7 separate regions of the Homo sapiens genome follow, and regions 1, 2, 3, 4, 5 and 6 are each linked to region 7. Evidence: promoter capture Hi-C in 16 types of primary human blood cells and fetal thymus (Javierre and others, 2016). All regions are on one chromosome and are shown on one strand. The core of a region is centred on a gene start or on the middle of the fragment in contact, and the rest is flanking DNA. Distances in the headings are between cores, read along the strand shown.

Region 1 (3,616 bases), core at 139-2,638, 330 kb after region 7:
TTTTATTAATTAAAATTTTTGTGGTTTATGCTGTGCATTTTTACGTTTGCTTACTGTTGTCATGTATTCCATGAGAACAAGCAGGCTGTCTGTTTTACTTATGTGTTTATTTATTTATTTTTATTTTATTTTTAGATGGAGTCTCACTCTGTCACCCAGGCTGGAGTGCAGTGGTGCGATCTTGGCTCACTGCAACCTCCACCGCCTGGGTTCAAGCAATTCTCCTGCCTCAGCCTCCCTAGTAGCTGGGATTACAGGCGCACACCACCATGCCAGGTTAGTTTTCGTAGTTTTAGGTGAGATGGGGTTTCACCATGTTGGCCAGGCTGGCCTTGAACTCCTAACCTCAAGTGATCCACCTGTCTCAGCCTCCCAAAGTGCTGGGATTATAGGCGTGAGCCACCGCACCTGGCCTTGTTTTATTTTTAAAAAGAACCATGCTTGACAGGTTTTTAGATTGATCCCCAGCCCTACTGCCCAGTAAACCAATGGTTCAGCAATGGTAACATAGAGACCTTCAGCTTTTCAGCCTAAGGCTTTCTATTTTTACCCGCTACAAGACTTAGCTTGAGCCTTGAGAGGAACTTACCTTAGTTTTCTTAAGGGTCTGTAGCCAATAATGTTATCCATATGTCTTTTTAAAGCCTTAAATGGAATTGATGCAAATTCACTAGTATCCATTTATCTCAGTTCTGCAAAACCAAGTTAGTAGAGCCATGCAGCCAAGGTCATACTGTTTATTCCAGAGACTTATTTCCCCCATGTGCCTTTTCGAGCTCCCACAAAGGACTACTAGTGTTATACTTGCCCAAAGTGAAAGCACAACATGAGATTCTTGTAGTAATCTGTGTTCTCCTCCCTCTCCTTTCCCTTCCCCGCTTGCCATTCCTCCTTCTCTCCCCACCCGCTCAGTCATCAATGAGTTCCGTTCTGTCCCCACTCTAATAACTATAAATGACACCAATGCCCAGCAAGGAGCAAAGGTCAAACAGCTCTCCTGTATTCTTTATTTTTCTACCAAGATTGCAGGATTTATGTGGCAACAAAGAATAAAGAACTGGGCAGCAAATACAAATTTGTAAATTTTAAGAACAGAGAGCTTAAAACACAGTGCCCATCAGAAAAAAATATACATATATTATAATTGTTTCAAGTCTTGAAAAAGAAGTAGTCTTTGCTGTGGTGAGCAGGCAAATAACAACAACAGATTCCTGAGGGAATGTGATAGGCTTTTCCTATGATAGGCTTTGAATCAAATAAGTACAGGTCATGGATTTTCAAATATTTTTCTAGTGTGTCCATTACTTTCCAAAAGGTCCATCTCTCTGCTGTTGCTGTTGCGACAGCTGCCAGGTTCTCCAAGCAGAAGGAGGGAGAGAGGCTCCTGCAGCTTCCCCAGGGCACTCGACCCCTCCACCCACACACCTTCATAAAACATTCAGAAACCTCTCTGCTCAGTTATATGTGCATATACCACTGCACAATAACTGTCCTAACCACATGTTATCCCAAATAACCTCAATGGCACTGTTATGACAGACTACGAACAAGGCATGGGGACTCAGCCAGGATTATGTAATAGGGTTTTGGCCTGTCTTGAAGCCAGGAGTGATTATTTCTACTAATAATAGCTATCATTTATTAAATTCCCACCAGGTGCCAGCTGCTTTATATATGAAATAATGATGAGAGGTGGTAACATTTATTGACTTGCTCATTATATGCTAGGTACTGTTACAGATTTGTAACATGTATTTTCTCATTTAACCCCTACTCCCCCCAACTGCTATATATTAATTTTTTTAGCTATATATTAATTTTTTTATTATATAAAAAAGGGCTATATATTAATTTTTTTAGCATCAGTAAATAGATGAGGAAACTGAGGTGCAAACAGTTTAAATAACCTGCCAAGGTCACACAAGTAGTAAATGCTGGAGCTGGGACATGAAGCCTGGAAGCCCAACTCCAAAACCACACCCTTAACCATCATGTTAAATTATCTTCCTGGTTGAGTTACTTTTAATCCTCATCAAAACTCTACTTTATACCCAGTTCATATGGGAAAACTGAGGCTCACAGTTGTTAATTAATGTAGGTAGTAGCTGGGGTTCTGTTCAGTGTCATGAGACACCAAAGCCTGGGGATGTGGGGTACAGAGCTCTATCACCCCAGGAAGTTCTGTGGCTGTCTAGCCTTGGACAAAGGAGTTAAGTCGCTGAAGTTTTCTTCAAGAGCTTCCACCTTCTATCTTTTCCATGTTTGATCCCCTTTCCATCTCTGAACTCTCCCTGAGGCCCATCGCCCCCTGCCACCACCCCTACCCTCCCGTTATAAAACTCTTCTTTGTCTCCTTCCTGAAGGGGCCTCTATAAGGGAACTCATAAATTAGCCCTTCCTAATTTTTCATGGTATAATATTAGCACTTTAGAGTGCTGACTCTGCTGAAAATGCAAATCTCAGGCCACACAGACATAGTGGTCCTGACTCGGTAGAGCTGGGTGGGGCCCAAGGATCTGCGTTTTTCAGTAAGCACCCCATGATTCAGATGTGGGCAGCCCAGCTTGATTGACTCTAGTGCAGTATGTCCACACCTTCTGACAGAAGATTTGCATCATAGAAAGGGATTTTATGTTGGGGATTTGAGGTCAGGGCAAGTGAGATATTAAAGCAAAAAGACCTTCGGATTTTGTTTTTGTTTGTTTGTTTTGGGTTTTTTCCTTTTTTTTTTTTTTTTTTTTTTTTTTTTTGAGACGAAGTCTCACTCGCCCATGCTGTAGAGCAGTGGTGCAATCTTGGCTCACTGCAACCTCCACTTCCCAGGTTCAAGCGATTCTCCTGCCTCAGCCTCCCAAGTAGCTGGGACTACAGGCATGTGCCACCACGCCAGACTAATTTTTGTATTTTTAGTGGAGATGGGGTTTCACCTTGTTGGCCAGGCTGGTCTCAAACTGCTGACCTCAGGTGATCCGCCCGCCTCGGCCTCCCAAAGTGCTCGAATTACAGGCATGAGCCACCATGCCTGGCAGGCCTTTGGGTTTTGTTTTCCTCTGGCTATCATATTGGTCAGATTTGGGTATATATTTTACTTATGTAAATTTTAAAGTGAAGGCCTTTCAAATACTCTTCTCTTAAATTTAAATAATTGGTCTTTTAAAAAGACAGAATAAAATTTAAAAGTTCCTGTTTATTACCAAAAAGCTTACTAAATAATAACTTTTCCTTTATTTGGTCATTGAATATACGCATATCTCACACGTGAAATAAACAGTGTTGGAGTTCCTTTTATGCTGAAACCAGGCTTCTTTCCAGGTGTTTCAAGGGGTGTGTCCTGAGGAATAATGTATAGTTTTTAAAGACACAATTTGTTTTTTTCTTTTTTCTTTTCTTTTTTTTTTTTTTTTTTTTTTGTGAGTCTCACCCTGTCGCCCAGGCTGGAGTACAATGGCATGATCTCAGCTCACTGCAACCTCCGCCTCCCGGGTTCAGATGATTCTCCTGCCTCAGCCTCCCAAGTAGCTGGGATTACAGGCACCCACCACCATGCCCAGCTAATTTTTGTATTTTTAGTAGAGACGGGGTTTCACCATGTTGGCCAGGCTGGTCTCGAACTCCT
Region 2 (3,216 bases), core at 131-2,630, 330 kb before region 7:
TTAGATATTACTGTACCCATTGAATAGAGGAGGAATATGCTTAGCAAGGTTGAATAACATTTCTCTGTCATGCAATGAGTAAGGTTTGGAGTTTGTAACTCCTAAGCCTTTATGCATTTCCCATTATGTTCATATAAGTGTAGAGTGATGAACAACACATTTTCCTTGACTTAAAGAAGTTTATAGGGGAAAATTTAAAAGAAACTATATACATTTAACTAAAATATATTTAGAATGTGTTATCACTGTAATACCACAGTCTGTTATTTAGCCCTGAATGAGTATAAGTAATACTGAATTAAACTTTCAAATTAATGCAAATACAATCAATTAAAATTTTTGTCTGTGAAAGTATACAAAAAGCACCCAAGCACTGTTCTGTCCAAAAGAGATGGTGTTGTGACTTATGACAGTCAGTTTAGTTGGTAGGAATATTCTAATATCAACATGAATTCATCAGTCTTTCTTGGTCTATTATCATTAAACAGTCAATTCTTATGATTAAAATCCTTGTTTGATTCTACATTTACTAAGAATAATTTTTATCATAAATTATTTTACCAATTAACTTGCCTTTAAGGAAAAGATATGCTGATCCAAAGACATATGTCCTGTCACATTAATAGTTAATTGATTACTTGACATTCTAATATAATAGTATTAGACCCTATAAATTTAGTTAATGTGGGCCTCCAACAAGACTGACAGTTCAAACTACTGCTCCTTCATGGTACTGCTAATGCCAATACATGACAAACAGGAGGGCTGCTGGGAAGGCCTTCCTTCTTCCATATTTGTCAGCCTTCTGTGGATTTTCAAACACCATGCCTCTTTCTATGTGGTGTTTCTCAATAAAGTATCATGGAAGCAAACAAGTAAAAGTCATGTTTTATTTTAATTGGACCGTAAATTCTTAAGAGTGGCATTTGGTATAAGTCTTGAACCCTGGGTGAGATTTCACTGTGGAATAAGGGCACATCAGGCAGAGAATATCAATATTAATCTTATTTCCCTGTATTAACATTAAAATACATAACCAAATGTATTGTGAACAAACAAAAATGGAAAGTCAGAAGGAAGATGATGTCTACACTTAAGAAGCAGAAGCAGATGGAATCGTAATGGTTTTGATTTCAACTTGAAATTTTGTGTGTTTCTGGGAACTACCTTCCCAGAAATAGACAACTTTGACCAATTGTAATTAAAGGAAGGAAGGGGAGAGAAGAAGTGGTGAAAGAAAAATCCAGAAGAGGAAGTATGATTTTTTCTGCAAGAATCATTTAGTGAATATCTGACTTTAAGCACAAAGGCAAAAATTAAGCTGTCTTCTACTGACTTCAAAAACAAAGGATGATTTGACACAGATGGAATCATCCACAATTGTGGTATTCGTAAAACATATCAACACCCATATAAAATATATTTCTTTTTAAACTGCTTTTCTCTTTGTTCATATGCAATTTGCAAGAATACAAGCCTTAATTATGGGTTTATTTGCCACACGCATTAGACTATTTAATTTCTGAAACTTACTGATTGTTACAAGCATCTCATTTTTAATACTTTATTTTGCTAATGGCACCAAATCCAGCCTGTCAAGATTAGGAATTTTTCATAGCCGAGATTAGGAAATTTTCCAAACGGGGCAATAATGTTTTCGTAAAGCTCTGGAATAAAAATGATGGATAATTTATTATAGAAGTTACATTAATAGATATTAAATTAAATTGATGTGAATGTACGTTTTTGGATTAAATATTAGTATTTTTCTCAAACAATATTATTGCAGTATTAAACTAAGAAAATAAACTTGAGCTTAAAAAGTCATAAATATTTTTGAATATGTTTTACTAGCAAATATAACTTTTCCCCCCACAGATGCAGGATCAGGATCTGGAGATGGAGGTAGGAGTTGCCTTTTTACATATTTGAAGATTTACTGGTGGATATTATTATGTATATTTACTTATGTATGTTCCATTTCAGATATTTAAGACAAATTTCATATTTTGCATTTTAGGAAAGGTGAAACCATAAAAAATTGTCACCATATTAAGTACATGTATATACCGTGCAAATTATTTGGCATACTTATGAATCATACTCTATCTCCAGTTAACCTTCCTTGTTCATTTGTTTGTTTGTTTGTTTGTAAGTTATCTTTGATATGGATAGGCATAATGTAAAAACTTCTGAAGAGAAGCATGTAAGCATATTTGGCAGGGAAGAAAGAATTCATGAGGAAATCATTTAAATATTGGATTTTTAAATATATGACACTGCTCTCAATTACTAGGTGCTAATAAGACATACATAACCTACCATATAGCCAAGGTTTTAATTATCAGATTTATAATTTGAAACTGAAGGAACTTTAGTTCATAAAAGTGAAAAAGATAAAATGAAGTCCAATGAAAGTAAAATATTATCTTTGCTTCCTTGATTAAATCTATAGTTATTTTTACTAAAGTATGATATATGTTCCCATTATTTAGTTTTGTTTAGGGAAGTATATAAGATGAGAGAGAGAGAGAGAGAAACTTTAAAAGTTTGATCTAATGTACTTACTACCAAATAAAGATTTTACCTATAGATTGAAACTAAATTGTAAATGTCCCAAATACTTTTCCCGATGAAATTCAAACAAAATTAGACTTTTATACACACAAAGCAAAACAAAACACAACCTATATATAATTTCAAGATTAAGAAAAACAAAACAAATAAAAGCATTCTCTCAAGACCTTGCTTCAGTTGTGTAAAATAATTAAATGTGCTATTCCAAGTTGATTTTAGTTTTTAAATACAGAATTTGATAAAAGATAAGTAAAAGAAGGCCTTGGGTTCAGGGTGGCAGATATTTAGTGCACCCTTTATCTAGTTCAGGAAACACTTGAAAGATTTATCAAGTTTCCTTATGTAATGAAAGACTTAACTAGTTCAAATAAGCAATACCCACAGAACATAATTAGAGCAGCATATTGGAGCACAATTTTTTTTTCATAAAGACTAAAACTGAACAGCAGCAGATTGAAACACAATTTTTTTCCTAAAGACTAAAACTGAACAGCAGTCAAGACTCAAGCATAGAATATGTTTCAATGTCCCATGATGTTGGACAGTCCTTTGATGTCTGGACAGTCTTTCTCTACTTCTAATAAAAGTTTTCCTAGCTGATTAATATAGTATTCCCAAGAAAGCGTCCCTAGAGGTTTT
Region 3 (3,174 bases), core at 15-2,514, 260 kb before region 7:
CTGTCAGAAGCTACCTATGAAATAAATTCAGCGTACTTAGAAATGCCTACTGCTACCCCCTTTTACCTTAAGCCAACATCAACATTTTATCTCTTGTTCTCTCTCTGGATTGTTAAAATAGTCTCTTAGTTCTCCCTGCTTTAGTGGTTGCTTTCCTTTGCTTTCTTTTCAATACAACCATCAGAATGTGCCTTCATAATGAAAGTTGGAAAGCGTTAGTCCTCTCAAAACTCCCGGTGGCTTTTCCATCTTGCTCAGAGTAAATGCCAAAGGTCTTATAATAAACTTCACAGCAGTATACTGATCTAGACCCGCTGCTATTCCTCTGATTTTATCTCGTAGCACTATCTTTCTTTTTCCCTCTACTCTCTCAAACACACCAAGCATGCCCTCACCTCAAGGCTATGGCATCTCTGCATATAAAACAAAGACATACAATTTCTCATATTCCTTCTCATTCTACTAATGACCCCACCATTGCTTTGATTCTTACCAAGAGAGCCCTGTAATCAAGGTCTAAATGTGACTTAATTTACGGTTCATATAGCATTCTACTAGGTTCTTTACCTGAAGAGTTGAAAACAAGACTACCTTCCTGTAAGCTTACTTAACACAAAGAATTAGATACTGAGTCAGAACTCAGGTTTCGTTAATGTCTAATTAGCAAAAGAACAAGATAAAGTAGGAAGGCTAGATCCAAGTCCTAGTTGAACTAAATGATTACTGTACATCTGAAATGGAAGCAAGACAAAGACCAATTATTCTAAGGAGAAACAAAAGAGGGCAGATGTCTTAAGGTGAATCCAAAACTAAAAGGTCCATATCCAGGCCGTAATCCAAGCAGAGGTGTGAACAGGATATGAGAAAAAATCTAATACCTGTCATTGGTGAAAGTACTTATGAGTGGTCAGTTGGTACTAAGAAAGGGGCGTGGAGAAAGGAAATACGACAGCAATTGTACCCACTTTGGGATAGTGATATTCATAAAAAGAATTTCCTTGGGAGCAGGGATAAACATCAGAAAACAGAGTTTTAGAAAAAGAGAAGATCAAGAAGTACCACGTTCGATGAAACACTGAGTTATAGGACAGTGAGTATCATTGATAGAATAGAATTTAATTTCTGAGTGTCTGGGCAGCCAGCTCCAAGTCTGAATTAGTGAGAAGTCACTATTCCCATCATTAATGTCCAGAGTGACCCAAAGTTTTTGGGAAAAACTCAAGTAGTCCCAGATGCAGTATTCCACACCACGGAATGCTCATAGAAAAAAAAAATGAGTTTCATTTTAGGGATCAACTACAGGTTGCAATTTTCAATAGGATGGTCAAGAAAGACATTATTGAGGCCAGGAGTGGTGGCTCACGCCTGTAATTCCAATACTTTCGGAGGTTGAGGTGGGCAGATCACCTGAAGTCAGGATTTCAAGACCAGCCTGGCCAACACGACGAAACCCCGTCTCTAGTAAAAATACAAAAATTATCGTGCCACCTCACTCCAGCCTGGCGACAGGTGAGCCGAGATCATACCACTGCACTCCAGCTTGGGTGACAGAGCAAGACTCGATCTCAAAAAAAAAAAAAAAAAAAAGAACAAGAAAAGAAAGAAATTATTGAGAAGATGATATTAAAATAAAAATAAAAGGAGGGGAAGGAGAGAGGGAGCCATGGAGATATCTAGGAGCAGAGCATTCTAACCACTGGGGACAACTGCAAAGGTCCTGTCTTAAGAATTGCAAGAAGGCTAGAGTAGGGGAGCAGAGTGAGGAGAAAGAGAAGCATGGAAAATAGGCTTGGAGTTGAGGCACACCCGTGGGACCCTATACACAACCATGGTTAAGACTTTGTGTTTTATTCTGAGTGAAAGAAAATGCTCCGAGATGGTTTTTTAACAGAAGAATACGTGATCTGTGTGCTGGTGATAAGCTTGTAAGCATGTCCTTTATTCCTGGACTAACCACTGCAAAATGGTTAGCTAAAAGCTGAAAGAGAAGTAAATGCAGGCTTCATTTTTTTTGTTTTTCTTTTTTATGTGATAATAGGTTCTTAGTATATGAGCTTCAATAATTTGTGCATAGTGTTTTATATACCTCTCCCAGACATACTATTTATTATTTAGCTTTCTAATTCCTTCTAATTTTGTAGCTTAGTCACGCCAAAACTAAGTTAAATCACATCTATGGAGCTTTTGTATGTGCCAGACATTGTGCTGTATGCTTTATATGTAGAATCTCATTTACTCTTCCAACAGCACATAATAATCATCACCACCATTTTATTGATAGGGAAACTGTAAAGCACAGAACTTAGGAATTCCAGAGCATGTATCGTCACCGGAGTTAACATCATACTTGTTTTTGTGGACCTGACTGTCCCCTTCAGATATTTTCTTTAGGTTGCCTAATATTTCGTTACAAGAGAGTACATTCTCCAGGCTGACTAGATGTCTAAGCGAGAAGACAGTCTGCATTTTCAGTCTTTTGTTATAGCATGAGATGCTGCCTGGGACATAGCATAGTCAGTCTAGTGATTCAACATATGTACAAATGAATCAGAACACAGGGTTCCTATCCCAGCTCATCCATTTGCCAGCTGTGTTTCTCACTTTGGTTCTTTATAAAATAACAGTACCTAAAGTAGGATTCAAGCCCTATTAGATTTTGAGATCACATTTTAAGAGAAAGAATACAAAATTAGGCATGAAAGTGAGTATTTATTCATGTAGAGAAAATAAAACATAGCAAAATATGAATTTTAAAAAGTTAACAAATACCACACAAATTATAAACTGCAGAAAAAAGTAACTATATTGTTGTTTTGTAAATAACATGATCCTCTAGAGTTTTTTTCATTTTTTAATCCATTTTTGGCTATATATTCTTCAATTGCCTCTGCACATGACTTCAATTTGGTAATATCACACAACTAATTACACGGTAAAATTATTTTGGGTAATAACCCCAGTATTGTTCTCTTCCAGCCCTGCAGTGAAAGCTGCCCATCAGACTCTGAGGAGGCTGCATAATTAAACTCTACTGTTTCACTAGCTAAGCTGCTGAAACACAGTAAACCAAGTCCTGGGAAATTTCTTTTTCATGGTATACTTAACATCCCATGAACTATAATGTGATATGGAAATCCAGTTTGCAATGCTCTGTTCTTCATAAAACACAGAGTG
Region 4 (3,542 bases), core at 533-3,032, 280 kb before region 7:
TAGACATTTTGCATCTATTTGTTTTATATTTAGGGAAAATAATACAGTTGCAGTTAAATTAAGCTAAGTGACCTATGCTAGGGTCAGGCGAATTATTTCAATATTCGTCTTTGTTAATTTGTTTTTAGAAAAACTGCGGTAAGAAATACAAATGTAAATGACTAAAAACAAAGACTTGGCATGACAAATAATTCCACAAGTAAAATTAAAGGACTGTTTTATGATGTATGTACTGTAGATTATGCAGTGTTGTGGGCCTCAATCTTGCTTGCTAGTCACACAAACATATACAAAGGACCTTGCTCCCACAGATGTACACATTTAGTCCAAATCCTCAAACTGGGAAGTCCTGGAGCAACATCAGCAACTCCCTCACCATAAATATGGCATTTCCTTAATTCTATGCTGCACTATTTTCATATTTAATATTTCTGAAATCTGGATTCATCTTAGAATTGAAATGTAAGAATGCATGTGGGGTCCTCAAACTCTTGTTCCACTGCATGGGGAATTTTTCAGGTTGACATAAACTAAAGTAGTATTAAAACCCATCCCTCTAAGAGTGTCTTTTTTCCTTGGATGGCCCAAAAACTATGTACATCATGGTCAGAAAGGTATTTTTCTGAGGATATTGCTCTTTTTTTTTTTTTCTATTAAACATGCTGGTAAAATGTGTCAGAGTATACTGCTTTCTACTCTTATAAAATAACCCGTGGGTTATATTTTCAAGATGACAAAAGCTATTTAAATGAGATAGTTAGTGGACATTTTTAAAAAACTGAAAATCAATCCAGAATATGTGCTTGAGGAACTCTCAGGGAACCAATTCGAAGATTTGCACGAGGATCCCAGGATTCCTAGTCATTTTTTCAGCCTTGGGCCATGTAGGTACACAGAAACATAAACTGGCACCAGAGCTAGAATACCTAATTTAGGGGCCCCAGGCCAGGGGGTGTTAAGATTGCTGGGTGCTCAACACTCTCCTATGGGGCACCCAGGCATGTCCCAGAGGAAATGTGTGGCTACTGAAAAGTGCACTGTGGTTGTATACATCAGATGCACAAGTAACACAAAAGGCACCACATGTGCCACACACTGGAGAGTTTTGCTACCTCCCCGGGGGAAGCCAAAATGCGCCGCTGCAGCACTTGGAATGAAAATGCATTTTCTGTGAGCAACAGCCTCCTTTGAAGAAACTGCTTTCTCTTTCAACATTTGGAAGCTGCTTGGCAACCCACAATCAAGGTTTTCGTTATGTTGTTTTAAACAGGCCCATTATCAGTGTCTCATCTCTCTGAAAGCTTCAGACTTCATCATACTGTTTTTAAAGATTAACATATTATACCTGATAAGCTTCTAAAACTTGCAGCCTTACTAAAGCTGACTGTTCCAGCACTTTCTTCCTATTAAAAGTGAGTTGCACAAGAATTAAAATAGATACTGTTTGTCTACTCTTTTCTTGCGATAAGAAGGCAACACTTCACTTGTTCTGATGTTCATTTTCTATCCGTACATTCAGGAATTCATTTTTAAGATGTCCTTTCTTTTGTCAAAATGTTAGATCTGTGCAAGAATTTATAAAGGAAAATCATTTCAGACATGTTTGTAATAGGCAATATTAAAAGTAAATTTGAAGGCTACAGTGACTTATTGCAATATTTTGTTTGTCAATAGTCTAATTAGAAACTAAGAATATTCTTATATTCGACTAATGCTGATTTGTTACCTCACCTGTCAATTCTTACATAGTATAAAAGTAGATTTGGAAAAACTGAAAATAAATATATGTATAGACATTGAGCAAAAATAGCATTTTTAGCTTCTTGAAAATTGTAGGCTTTATCTGTAATGGCAAATTTTAAAAAAATTGTGACAGATGCAATTTATTTGGACCTAAGTTTAATGAGTGAAAGGCTGAACTTATGTAAAATACTAAAAACTACAGTGCCCTAAAATCTAAAGTTGCAATGGCAAATCAAGATTGGAAATATTAATTATCACTACCTTGCACAGTAGAATTGTGTGACTTAGGGCTAAGAAAAGCTACAAAAGAGCCCAGAACTACATATCTCAAAACTTTAAATTAATGGGTTTCCAAAGAGGAGTTATGTAGCACATAAAAATTAAAATTAAGATTAGAAGAATGTAATAGTGTAAGTTGAGTAGATAGAACATTTCTTACGTAGTTTTAAGGATTTCTGCTAAGCTTTGACTCATTGATAGCAAGAATAACACACAAAGTAATATTATTACTTAAAATTGTCACGACTTATTGAACTAACTTATTTAAGATTTAAGCTACAAAGATTGGGCCTTTCAGTTAACATAAAACAAACAGTTACATAATTGTACTGTTGCTCAATTTTTGACTTTAGACATAGTCAGCTCATGTTCTTGTCATGTGTTGAAGCACAATTTTTCAACGTTAGCCCCAAATCATAGTTCCATGCCAGCAAGTGAGGTTTCCCCAAAATAAAGAGGATTTCTCATCCAGTTTGAACAAAAAATAGCTACATTGTTGATTTGTTGAATGTTTTTCAAATGCAATAATTTTTACATTTTGGATTTAGAGAAGAGAGAAGTAGGAGAGAAGGCAGGAAGGGTAACACTTAAAGACAGAAGGGCAAATATTCTAACACCATTGAGTGTTCACTCAGAAAACAGCAATGAATTACGTGGCCTGTGATATTTAATGAGCCCTGTATAATTTGCTCTATTATTAGTCAATATTTGGCTTTCTGTGAGCATTTACAAAATTATACCTTGATGAACAATAGGTCAAGTCAGTTTTTCCTTCTTGCTGACAGAGAATCATTGAATCTTTTAAAAATTGTCAGAGGTGATCCAGATGTCATTAGTGCACTAGATTCTTTCATGACTTGGGGAGGAGCCACAGACTCTCATCTGTCAGAAAGCCTGGTGGAGGGATGAGTTGCTTGGCACTAATAATCTCATTCATGTACTTAGTGTTACAGCTGTCTAAATAAGAGTGCTTTACTGTTCTTATATTGGCACATAATTAAATATCAGTTCTAAGTTACATAGCAAAACAACAAAATTCTAAAACCCAAAGCAAAAATTAACTTCTATATTGAAATACTTGAATTGCCTGAAGTGGGAGGAAGGGCATTATTTTACAGCAGCCAAAACAAGCTTTTGTTTGTTTGTTTGTTTGTTTTGTTTTGTTTTTGTAGTTAGAAGGCAACTCCACGTAGTGAAGAAGGACAGGTTTTGGAGTTTAACCAACCTAGGTTTTACCACCTTGAGGAATTTACCCTGTCTCTCTGAGCCTCAGTTTCCTAACATGACTGTCAGAGGGAACAAGATCATGAATGTAAAACATCAAATATCCTAAGTGTTAGTCATTTCTCCTTCTTTCTAGTTGCAAGTATGCCTTACTTCCTTCATACCAAATGTAATTACCATAGCAGTGTCTAGAATGTGTCAAGTTGTGACATGAAACCTAAAAAATACAGTCAGTATCTTTAGTTTGGGACTGACAGTTTTAATTGTCATGTTTTATTGTTCCCTTACACATCTTG
Region 5 (3,227 bases), core at 608-3,107, 280 kb after region 7:
GTTTCAAATGTAGCAACCCTTAAGTACCTGGTCTCACAAATACATTGGAGTCTCTTCTCAATTCCACTTTCACCCAGTTAGATTTATGACTCTCATAAATGATCCAAAGATTCGGGCTCCATGATTACAATGGACACAAAGAGAAATTAGGTAGACATGAGGCATTAGGGCAAAACACATAGGCCCACCCTAATTGAGTAGGCAGCTACCACTCTCCATTCTAATAAGCCAGTTTCAGTTGTACTAGAAAAGTCCTCTTGTCAATAGGAGAAGTCCCAAATTTTCCATCATCTGCATGCCTGACACCCGCATGGCCGACATGCCTTTAACTACCATTTATGGACCAGGTACTTTATATACCTAATCTCTAGTCCCTATAGCCACTCACAAATGTGCATATTACTATCATCGTTACTATTTGACACATGAGAAAATAGACTCATAAAGGTTAAATGACTCGCCTAAGGGCCCACAAGTGATAAGTAGATGAACACAGATTAGAACTTCTAATTACCAATCTTCTGTCTTATTTCCAAGCCTTGTGACTCAAAGACAAAGCTTGTCATTGCCACAATTAATGTTCAAATGCAAACGTAGACAGCATAGGATAATAAGACTCTGTGTCACTCACACTAAGGATCCAATGAGGAGAGCAATGGAGCCCCCATACCTGGTAAGAGTGGGGAAAGAAAAGGTTTCAAAGAAGTGAGTCTGAGGGTCCTAGGGACACAGTGTGCCTTCTCACAATTCTACCCAGGGTGGGGCGACTGAATTCTCAAAGCCTTGTCTTATTTTATCTCATGAGGCAAAAGCTCACTTTCATTCTAGGGCTTCAAAGGTAGCCAGCACATTTGAATTACCCAATTTGTCATAAAAATATTGTTAGGAAAATGCCCAAACTATCAAAGATGAATTAAATTTTTCTGGCAGCTTGAGTTGGACTCATGTCTCTTCTTTCATTTGATATGTTACTGCTTGGTTTTTCATGATCTTGATATCCTTGCTTAGAAACAACATTCTCAGACACCAGGTATCAAGTAAGGGTTCAGGCCCCACTGCCTGAGTTCAAATTTTCAGAGTTTGGAGGAAGGCAGCCCAAGGGTCACTGGAATTATAATAACTTAAGGGAAAAAAAAAAAATATATATATATATATATACCAAGTTAGGCTTATGGCTTCCTCCCTAACTACCCAATGGAAAGAGATAGGGAGTAAGATAACTAGATGACATTTTTGGTCATTGTTGTTCCTAAAGGTCAACGTTTCTTCAGCTCTGGTTAAATTTTCAGCATTCTTACTTCTGCATGTTCTGTCCAGCCCCTCCTATTCCTATAATTTTGAGGAAGTCACTGAGGGAAAGTGCTGACTCATAAAATTAGTGACTGGAAGCCAGTAAGTGACAGCACTTACAGGCAAGTTTGTATTAAAAATGTAATGATGTCAAGAAATTTCTCCAGGGACTTTGGCTTTTTATTGAAGTAAACTCATTTTCCCAGGTCTCACTTTGTTGCTTTTCATATTTGCAACTTTAATGACCAGAAAAAAAACCCCACAAAAAACCCAAAACGAAACAAAACAAAACAAAAACAAGCAGAGGAAGAAAGAAGGGAGGAGAGAGGGGGTGGGGAGAGAGAGTAAGAGAAAGAAATACGTGCATTAAAGAAAGGATTTGTTATCAGTACCCTCTTCTGGAAACACAAGAATGTAGCCTGGAATCGAGCTGTGGCATTTCTTTGATGAGAAAACAAAGAGATTTACGCTAGCAGACAGCGTCAGGCTTCCATGTGTCTGATGTTATTTGGGGTTGACATAATGTAGTAGAAAGAGCCCTAAACTTAGAAATCAAAAATTGTGGATTTAAATCCAGCCTTTGCTCCTAACCTTCTACGACCTCAATATTTAAATAATTCGGTGTTTTAAGTATAGTAGACCATATATCTGGATTAGAATCACCAGAGGCTGTTGCTAAAACTGCAGAATCCCAGGATTCACTCCACCATCAGAATCAAACGGCAGGAATAGGTATGAATCTCAATTTTAAACAATTTCCAGGGAAATTCTTAAGTAGTGTTCTGGCTTCAGTTACCTAATCTGTAGGTAGATAACTACAGATAACTGATGATTTTCTTAGATTAAGTGACCTATAATGCCCCTTACACATCTAACGCTTCGTGATCTTATAAAACAAAACAGAAGGAATGATTCCTCAATGGATTAACAAACTGTGATGGATCCATACAGTGGATTAATCCTCAGGAGTAAAAAGGAATGAATTATTGATACATGCAGCCACATGCATGAATCTCAAAATATTTATGCTAGGTGAAAGAAATCAGACAAGAAAAGATGATTTCATTTTCATAAAATCCTAGAAACCGCAGAGTAATCTATAGTCACAGAAAGCAGACTGGGGATGGGGCAAAAAGAAGGAGGTCTTACAAAGGGGGCAACTATGAAACTTTCGGGGTGAAGGAAATGTTCATTATCTTGACTGAGGTGGCGGTTTCCTGGGTAAGCACATATGTCAAAACTTGTGAAACCACACACTAAATCTCTGCCGTTTACTATAAATCACTTACCCCAATAAAGTTGAAAAAGAAAGAAAAGAAAAAGAAAAGAAAAGAAAGAAGGAAGGAAGGAAGGAAGGAAGGAAGGAAGGAAGGAAGGAAGGAAGGAAGGAAGGAAGGAAGGAAAGAAAGAAAGAAAGAAAAAGAGAAAGAAAGAAAGAAAGAAAGAAAGAAAGAAAGAAAGAAAGAAAGAAAGAGAAAGAAAGAAAGAAAAAGGAAGGAAGGAAGGAAGGAAAAGAAAGAAAGAAGGGAAGAAAGGAAGAAAGAAAGAGAAAAGAAAAGAGAAAAAAGAAAGGGAAGGAAGGAAGGAAGGAAGGAAATAGACTAGGATCTTGGGGAAGTTTGGATATCCATCTTCCTGGATATCCAAAAAGATTTCCTGTCTACCTATAATAGACAGGAATCTGTCCTGAGTTAGAGGACAGGAAGAGTGAGGGTCCCTGGACTGAGAGCAGGGAGCATTTGTTAAACAGGGGAGGATCTGCAGGCATCCTAAATCGCTCCACTTCAAAGGCCAGAAAAGTAATTTGGAAGCTGTAAGAGCAGAGCTTGTGCAGTGGTCTGCGTGAGCTACAAGCCAGAAGCTTCTGCCTGCTGCCCAATCCATCCACAGCATTGTGGATACTCCCCACCTGTCTCCCTGTTTTGTTGCAGAGGTGG
Region 6 (3,462 bases), core at 923-3,422, 350 kb before region 7:
AGTTTGAGACCAGCCTGGGCAACATAGTGAGACCCAATTTCTACAAAATATTTAAAAATTAGCTGGGCATGGTGGGGCCCAGGAGTTTGAGATTGCAGTAAGCTATGATAGTGCCACTGCATTTCAGCCTGGAAAACAGCAAGCCTCAGGCCCTGTCTCAAAAAAAAAAAAAAAAAAAAAAGAAAATCTTACATATGAAAGTCAGAGAATTTACATAATTATTAATAAACTAGTTCTATAGTTCATTAAAAAGCTCACTCGCTATACAGATGTCTCCCATTTTTAGGTGTACTAAATGTAAAGTATATAATTTTACAATAATACATATATAATATATAATAGACATCTATTATAGATAAATGCAATCTATAAACACTTATATCCAAGATGGGGATGGTAGGATCACAGTGAATACTGGTCCATGCAGACAAAGAAGGATGTAAATAGCTAAAGTAAAAAATAGAGACAATGCTGCCCCAGAAAGATTAAAAGTGTGCTTTAACTCTTGATGATTTCCTATTTGTATATTTCAGTCCTTCCCATAATCTATGTCCTTACTCCACTAGAGTTCCACAACATATTCTTCCTCTTTTTACACCAGGGTTTCTTTGTTACCTCAGTATTAAAATGAACTCTGGCCAAGACAATATATAGAGGCTCAGAGAAACTAAGTAACTTATATCCATCTTGAATATAAGTGTTTATAGATTGGCTTTATCTACAATAGATGTTTATTATATATTATATAGTATTATTGTAAAATTATATATTTTACATTTAGTACATCTAAAAATGGGAGATATCTGTATAGCGAGTGAGCTTTTTAATGCTTATAAATGTCAAGGCAAAGACTGCAACTCAAATAGTCAACAGCTGCCTAGCTCCTGTCATGTGATCTTGCCATGTCATTATATTGGAAGCTCTAATAATAATCAGCAAGTGGCTAAATGTCCAGATTTATACTGTAAAGAAATAAGTATAGACATGTAAATAAGTCAATTAAATTCTCTTTTAAATCTTTTGAATTTTCTATTTAAACACTTTTAACATGTTCAACAACATAAGACTCAGTTTTTTGGAAAGTAGTGTTATCAGACACAATCTGTATCTGATTCTGTGTTACAATCACTGCTAAGGAAATGACAGTATCCAGTTTAGAATTTATGTAAGGTAAAATAAAGGAAGGAAGATTTTTAAAGGCGGTAATGTGGTGGAGTACAGGAAAGGCTAACATTTTAATCATTTTCCGAAAATGCTTATGATGTCAGAATACATTACATCAGAAGATACAATTGTGGAACATTTACACTACTAATGTAAAGACCTGATTGTGAGCTGACTTCATTGGTGAAAAGACAAGTCAAAGGGAATGACCAGCCCTGGCACCTAAAAATGGCAACACAACTTTTCAAAAGGCTCATTCATTCCTTAAACTATTGCTACTAATGGAGTAATATATGGAAATCCATTGCCATAGTTTATTGTAGTGGTTTCTTGCTAAAAGGGATTCATGATCAAATAATGTTAGAAAATCTGAGGTCAATAAAGTTAAACCGGTGTTTAGTTTTGCTTGATGTGTTTTGGCTTGATTTCACTGCAGGGCTCCTCAGAGCCTTTAATGTGTAAATGCACACTGTGAAGCTTCAAGTGAGCGATGTTTATATTAAGTTTTCCTAAATATTGTATGAAAGAAGTTCCTCCCCTCCATTTTTCTATTTTTTCTTTATTTATTTTTTTAGAAGAACGACAAGTGGGTAGAAGAGCAGCAGCAAAGCGGCTGGGAACATTAGTGCTCCGGGGGTCTGTTCTACCACTAACAAGTAACTTGGAGAAAAAAAAAATCAATGTCACAGATAATAAAGGGAGAAATGATTGGGGCTTATGGTATGAAATAAATGAGTAAAATGCTCAGAATATGCAATACTGGATGGTGTTAATAATACAAATTGGAAAGAACTACCTTTACTAAGTCTTTTTCTAATTTCCCCCAATAGAAGCCATGAGTAGCCAAAGAGAGACATGAAAGGTAGTTTCATTCCAAGCTGATTCTAGTTCCTGTTTCTGACTCCAGAGAATAAATTTCAAAATGAGTTTGAAATAAAGCATTAGGCTAAGCCCTAAGAAGGCTATGATTAAATTAATAGCAATGGAAACCTACTTGAATTTATAAATAAAAAGACACCAGATTGTATAGAGATGACTACTGCTTATTAAATCTAGCTCTCTTCCAATAACAGTTCTTCCTTTTTTTTTTTTTAACTACTGGCAAGCTAGTGGCAAACATTAACTAGTTCATATTGCTTTGGCTAGATGTTTTAATAGTCTTTGGTGAGATATGTGTTTTACAAGTTTTAATGGAGAAAAATGTAAGTATTTTACCTCCTGAAACTTGGCTATTTGAGTAATGAGAAAATAGTCACTTTCCCCAGGACAGTGGTTCTCAATCATGGCTATGTGTTTCTCCAGGAAAACTTTAAAAATATATATATACCAATGCTTCTGTGTCACTTCTAGGGATTCCAAGTCTTTGAATACGAACTCTGCATCAGTATTCTTTAATTATCCAGGTGATTGTGATGTGAAATCATGACTGAGCCCCACTGCTCTAAGATGAAATAAACTTTCCTCAGCACTGAAATCACAAACTTAAACTACCAAAATTAATTAAGGGCATGGGAATCAATAAGGCATAGGGAAGCTTTTACATTATAAAATTATTTCTTTAAATCACAGCTCATTGTTTATATGTTATTTGCCATTGTAGAAAAGGGTGAAAAAATAGCAAATTTAATTACTCTCAGTTTGAAAAATTATCCAGAAATGAAGATGACGACTCTGAAACATTGTCAATATCATTTGACCTATAAATAATGTTCTAATACATTTACTACACACTGATAGATACTTTTTCATATGAATATTATACATTAAAACTAAGGCAATAATGATTTAGAACATTCTATCTATATCTATGTATCTTAAGTAGGCTAGAAATTAAGATATGAGTTATTAAGTATGAGATGTTAAGGTGTGGGGTTAGAAATTATACTGTACTTCATTATCAATAATCAACATATACTTCAATATCACATACATTTAACTTTAATTTGTACATCTTTAACTATTTTTAATTATGTGTATAAATATAAGTACACACATCTTTATGTATTTATTTATTCATACCTCCATTCACTTATTTATATAGGGGATCCCCCCAAATCCACTACCATTAAACCATACATTTTTATTTTAATCTTTAGAACAAGCCCAGGAGGCAGGTATTGTTATTACTCACATTTTACAAATGAGGAAATTGTCTACAGTCACAAAGTTACTGTGTCAGACATATTAGAAGCTTAATACATATTTGGTGAACATATGCATAAAAACAGAGAGACAGACATGTACAACAGCTCATCTTTACACTGAGTAAAAGCTTTTAACCTGTCTCAGAAACCTCTC
Region 7 (3,305 bases), core at 137-2,636:
CCTTGCAGAGATGGGCATTTGAGAAAGTCTCTCCTCACCAACTCAAAGTTAGTTAAAACAAATCATCACGGTAGGTTCTTAAAAAGACCACATTTTATTTTTCCTCAGTCTCACTTCTTGAAAAAAACAATCATTTTTTTAAATGTGGTCATTCAAAAAGTTTCCATATATTACATAACAGTCATAACAGCAGTATTACTTTTTTTAAATATCCCTGAAGTTCAATCTCTTTTAACTTATTTTGTATCTGCAACTGCAAGAGTAATAAGAACTGAGCTGTTTTCCTTATCATTATCAGAGTTAGTCCCATTCCTTTGCAAATGAGAAACTAATAATACAAACTTGGCTGCAGTACCCTTTAAACTCTATGCCTCCCAGTAGGACACCCGGTGTTCTGCAACCCATCAGTCAGTTCTAGGGCAAATGCAAACAATACTTTCCGTTACAATAACTTGTATCCAGGAAAAAGAAACAGGCACCCTGTTGCATCTGCAGCATAGCAGCCAGAGAAAAGTTTACCAGCTTTAGCCAATTGGAAGCTGTGGAGCTGGGCCAAGTTAGCATGTTTTTCTCCGCCTCTAGATGAAGTCATGATTGAAATATGACATTGAAAGGGAAGGGGAACAGGAAAGAAAAGCTAAACCTGCAACAAAGTGTCCTGTGCCCAGAACGCGGTTAGGAAGTGTGTGCATACGTCTGAACCCTAAATGGTTCTCAGTTCTGTAAACTTCTCCTCCCACTGGGTGGAGTAGGGCCTTTAAGAGCAGCTGGAATGCAGTTCCCCTGATCAGCGTAGCCAGTTGTTGCCTGTCTGAACCTCTGCCAGTCCTGGAGACTGGTGCCCTGAGCTCCAACCAGCGGGCCTCATCCTACACCCTCACCACCGCAACTTCTCACCCGAGCAAGAAGCAGCTCCCAGAGAGAAAGAACGTTCCCACCTGCCTAGCCATGGGAGAGGACGCTGCACAGGCCGAAAAGTTCCAGCACCCTGGGTCTGACATGCGGCAGGAAAAGCCCTCGAGCCCCAGCCCGATGCCTTCCTCCACACCAAGCCCCAGCCTGAACCTAGGGAACACAGAGGAGGCCATCCGGGACAACTCACAGGTGAACGCAGTCACGGTGCTCACGCTCCTGGACAAGCTGGTGAACATGCTAGACGCTGTGCAGGAGAACCAGCACAAGATGGAGCAGCGACAGATCAGTTTGGAGGGCTCCGTGAAGGGCATCCAGAATGACCTCACCAAGCTCTCCAAGTACCAGGCCTCCACCAGCAACACGGTGAGCAAGCTGCTGGAGAAGTCCCGCAAGGTCAGCGCCCACACGCGCGCGGTCAAAGAGCGCATGGATAGGCAGTGCGCACAGGTGAAGCGGCTGGAGAACAACCACGCCCAGCTCCTCCGACGCAACCATTTCAAAGTGCTCATCTTCCAGGTCAGTTCCCCCTATGCCTCCTTACAGGCGGGCTGGAACTCCTTATCATTCTTGATCTCGCTCATCCTGGCTCTCACAGCCATTTTTACATTTGTCCTGCCTGTCAGGGATCACACATACAAGGCACTGTCCCCTGTCTGCCTGCGGAAAGCAAATGTGAAATCTTCACACAGGGGTGGGAATTTCCCAGGTCACTACAGACTAATCCAAAGAAGATGTCCCCGGGCTTAGTAGGCCCCGGGTCATTTGTCAGGGAGCACCTGGATGCACTCTGTACAGGTTGGGAAGATGTGCAGGTGCGTGCACCCTAGTCAAATTCATTTGTCTCTTTGCATTAGGAGCTTAGGGCTCTGGCTGCAGCTGTTAGCTGGACAGGGCAAATTAATTCAGTGGCTGTTCATTAACTCTTAGTGGAAATGAAGTGATCATGTGAGGTATTTTGTGGTTTTTTTAACCAAAAAGTCAAACTATCCCTTTATACAAAGGCTATCAACGTTTTGGGGACCAATCAAATAGAGGATTGATTCCATTAGAGTTAGCCTTGTTCTTTTAAGACTTTTTTGGGGCAAAGCAATCTTGTGGAGTTCTTTTCTAGCAAATGCACTAGAAAAAGAGAGTACAAACACACTAGACGTGCCTCTCCTTGTTCAGAGAGACCACAACTGTTAAGTAAAATAAAAGGAGTGTTATCAGTTATAGTCACAAAGGCTAGTCTTAAATGTTTCTCCTTCAAACGGTTGCCTTAGAATAAAAAGGCCACTTAATTTTTTTTAATGCATCAATGATGCAATTAATGTAGCAAGAGGCTATCTGGGGACAGGGAGATTGCGTGGGGCTCTTGTTCCGCCAAGTGGTGGGCATTTGTGAATCCCAGGGCAGCCCTGCCTAATGCTGGAAGCCCTTCCGCCCAGTGGAATCCAGCCAGCACAGAGCCCAGGAAGCGATTGCCATCCTCGCTCCAGGGCTGTCTCGTTGTGACCATATGAATAGGAGAGGATTTCAAAGCCATGGAGGGGAGAGGCTATAACCAACAGTTTGATTGTGAAAGGCACACAGGGAAAGCCTTCATCTCCCAAGAGAGATTTAGAAATTGGGATTTAAACCGAGGGAGTCTTCTTTTTCAAAATGAATCTGCTCTGCCAAGTTAGAAGCCTTCCTACCCCCATAAAAGGAAAGACTCATCTCGCTGCTTTTTTGTCCTCCTCAAATTGCACTTGAATATTGTAAAGGTTTAGGGAGCCTATGTCCTCCTCTACCTTGCAGGCTTTTGCAGCTGAAAACTTTTCAGCTTTTAATGCAAATGCAGTAGCTTTTCATGCACCAGATGAATTGAAAAGAGATACTGTAACTGGGCCTTTCTTAAGCCATATGAGATCCTTACTTTATTAGCCTAAGAGATATTAGAAATCTCAGCTCTCAAGCCATTTCTAAATTAAATACTGATCTCCAAACAAAACCAAACATGTACAGACCTGTTTAAGTCTGAGACACCAAAGGAAATTTTCCTGCTTCCAGTATGAATCAGGCAAATTATCTCTTGTCCCATCCCTCAGTTAAGGAGGAGGAAAAAAGTATTTATCTTGTAGAGGAAAGTCACAATTCGTCAGGATTGGGTTTTGTTTTGTTTTGTCATGGATGTTCTGCAGATGTTGGGGGGAGGGATGGAGAGGATATGCTAGTAGAAATTCAGGAGAATTATAAATCTGACATTAAAAAAAAACTGCTTGGGAACTTAAAGGCATATGCTGTTGTGAGGGTCTGACATGGTCTCCTGTTTTGTCACATTGAATTGACAGGTGTGAAATTGCAGCCAGATATGGTAGAAATTCTCCATATAGTGAGTAAAAGCTGAAACAGGGGTGCTCAAGACCAAA

Evidence for each region. The method cuts DNA at HindIII sites, captures the fragments that hold promoters and counts their contacts. A CHiCAGO score of 5 or more calls a contact.
Region 1: a fragment that was not itself captured here is called in contact with the fragment with the promoter of CAVIN2-AS1 in region 7 in 1 of 17 cell types (neutrophils); the score reaches 6.0 in neutrophils.
Region 2: a fragment that was not itself captured here is called in contact with the fragment with the promoter of CAVIN2-AS1 in region 7 in 4 of 17 cell types (neutrophils, M0 macrophages, megakaryocytes and 1 more); the score reaches 8.1 in neutrophils.
Region 3: a fragment that was not itself captured here is called in contact with the fragment with the promoter of CAVIN2-AS1 in region 7 in 4 of 17 cell types (megakaryocytes, M2 macrophages, neutrophils and 1 more); the score reaches 11.2 in megakaryocytes.
Region 4: a contact is called between a fragment that was not itself captured here and the fragment with the promoter of CAVIN2-AS1 in region 7, in 6 of 17 cell types (megakaryocytes, M1 macrophages, M0 macrophages and 3 more). The highest score is 9.0, in megakaryocytes.
Region 5: a fragment that was not itself captured here is called in contact with the fragment with the promoter of CAVIN2-AS1 in region 7 in 1 of 17 cell types (endothelial precursors); the score reaches 5.2 in endothelial precursors.
Region 6: a contact is called between a fragment that was not itself captured here and the fragment with the promoter of CAVIN2-AS1 in region 7, in 2 of 17 cell types (megakaryocytes and M1 macrophages). The highest score is 6.0, in megakaryocytes.

The regions. Positions count from the first base shown.
Region 1 is chr2:191,513,637-191,517,252 of GRCh38, reverse strand. LOC107985833 (a long non-coding RNA gene) reads right to left here and starts at 661. Exons shown (of 3, transcript XR_001739229.1): 1 at 590-661. The HindIII fragment of the contact is 3,630 bases long and covers 1-3,203 here.
Region 2 is chr2:192,178,357-192,181,572 of GRCh38, reverse strand. TMEFF2 (transmembrane protein with EGF like and two follistatin like domains 2) reads left to right here. Exons shown (of 10, transcript NM_016192.4): 4 at 1,879-1,905. Among named protein-coding and RNA genes, the nearest start is that of TMEFF2, 15 kb to the left of the region's middle. The HindIII fragment of the contact is 6,862 bases long and covers 1-3,216 here.
Region 3 is chr2:192,101,040-192,104,213 of GRCh38, reverse strand. All of the region lies in intron 4 of TMEFF2 (transmembrane protein with EGF like and two follistatin like domains 2), which reads left to right. Among named protein-coding and RNA genes, the nearest start is that of TMEFF2, 92 kb to the left of the region's middle. The HindIII fragment of the contact is 1,320 bases long and covers 605-1,924 here.
Region 4 is chr2:192,126,478-192,130,019 of GRCh38, reverse strand. The region is part of intron 4 of TMEFF2 (transmembrane protein with EGF like and two follistatin like domains 2); the gene reads left to right. Among named protein-coding and RNA genes, the nearest start is that of TMEFF2, 67 kb to the left of the region's middle. The HindIII fragment of the contact is 853 bases long and covers 1,356-2,208 here.
Region 5 is chr2:191,569,746-191,572,972 of GRCh38, reverse strand. No RefSeq gene overlaps it. Among named protein-coding and RNA genes, the nearest start is that of NABP1, 110 kb to the left of the region's middle. The HindIII fragment of the contact is 2,593 bases long and covers 561-3,153 here.
Region 6 is chr2:192,198,776-192,202,237 of GRCh38, reverse strand. No RefSeq gene overlaps it. Among named protein-coding and RNA genes, the nearest start is that of TMEFF2, 5.6 kb to the right of the region's middle. The HindIII fragment of the contact is 1,057 bases long and covers 1,644-2,700 here.
Region 7 is chr2:191,844,569-191,847,873 of GRCh38, reverse strand. It overlaps CAVIN2-AS1 (CAVIN2 and TMEFF2 antisense RNA 1), which reads right to left and starts at 1,386. Exons shown (of 4, transcript NR_187184.1): 1 at 1,103-1,386. It overlaps CAVIN2 (caveolae associated protein 2), which reads left to right and starts at 786. Exons shown (of 2, transcript NM_004657.6): 1 at 786-1,431. The coding sequence starts at 949. RefSeq lists an enhancer at 573-1,081. The HindIII fragment of the contact is 13,325 bases long and covers 1-3,305 here.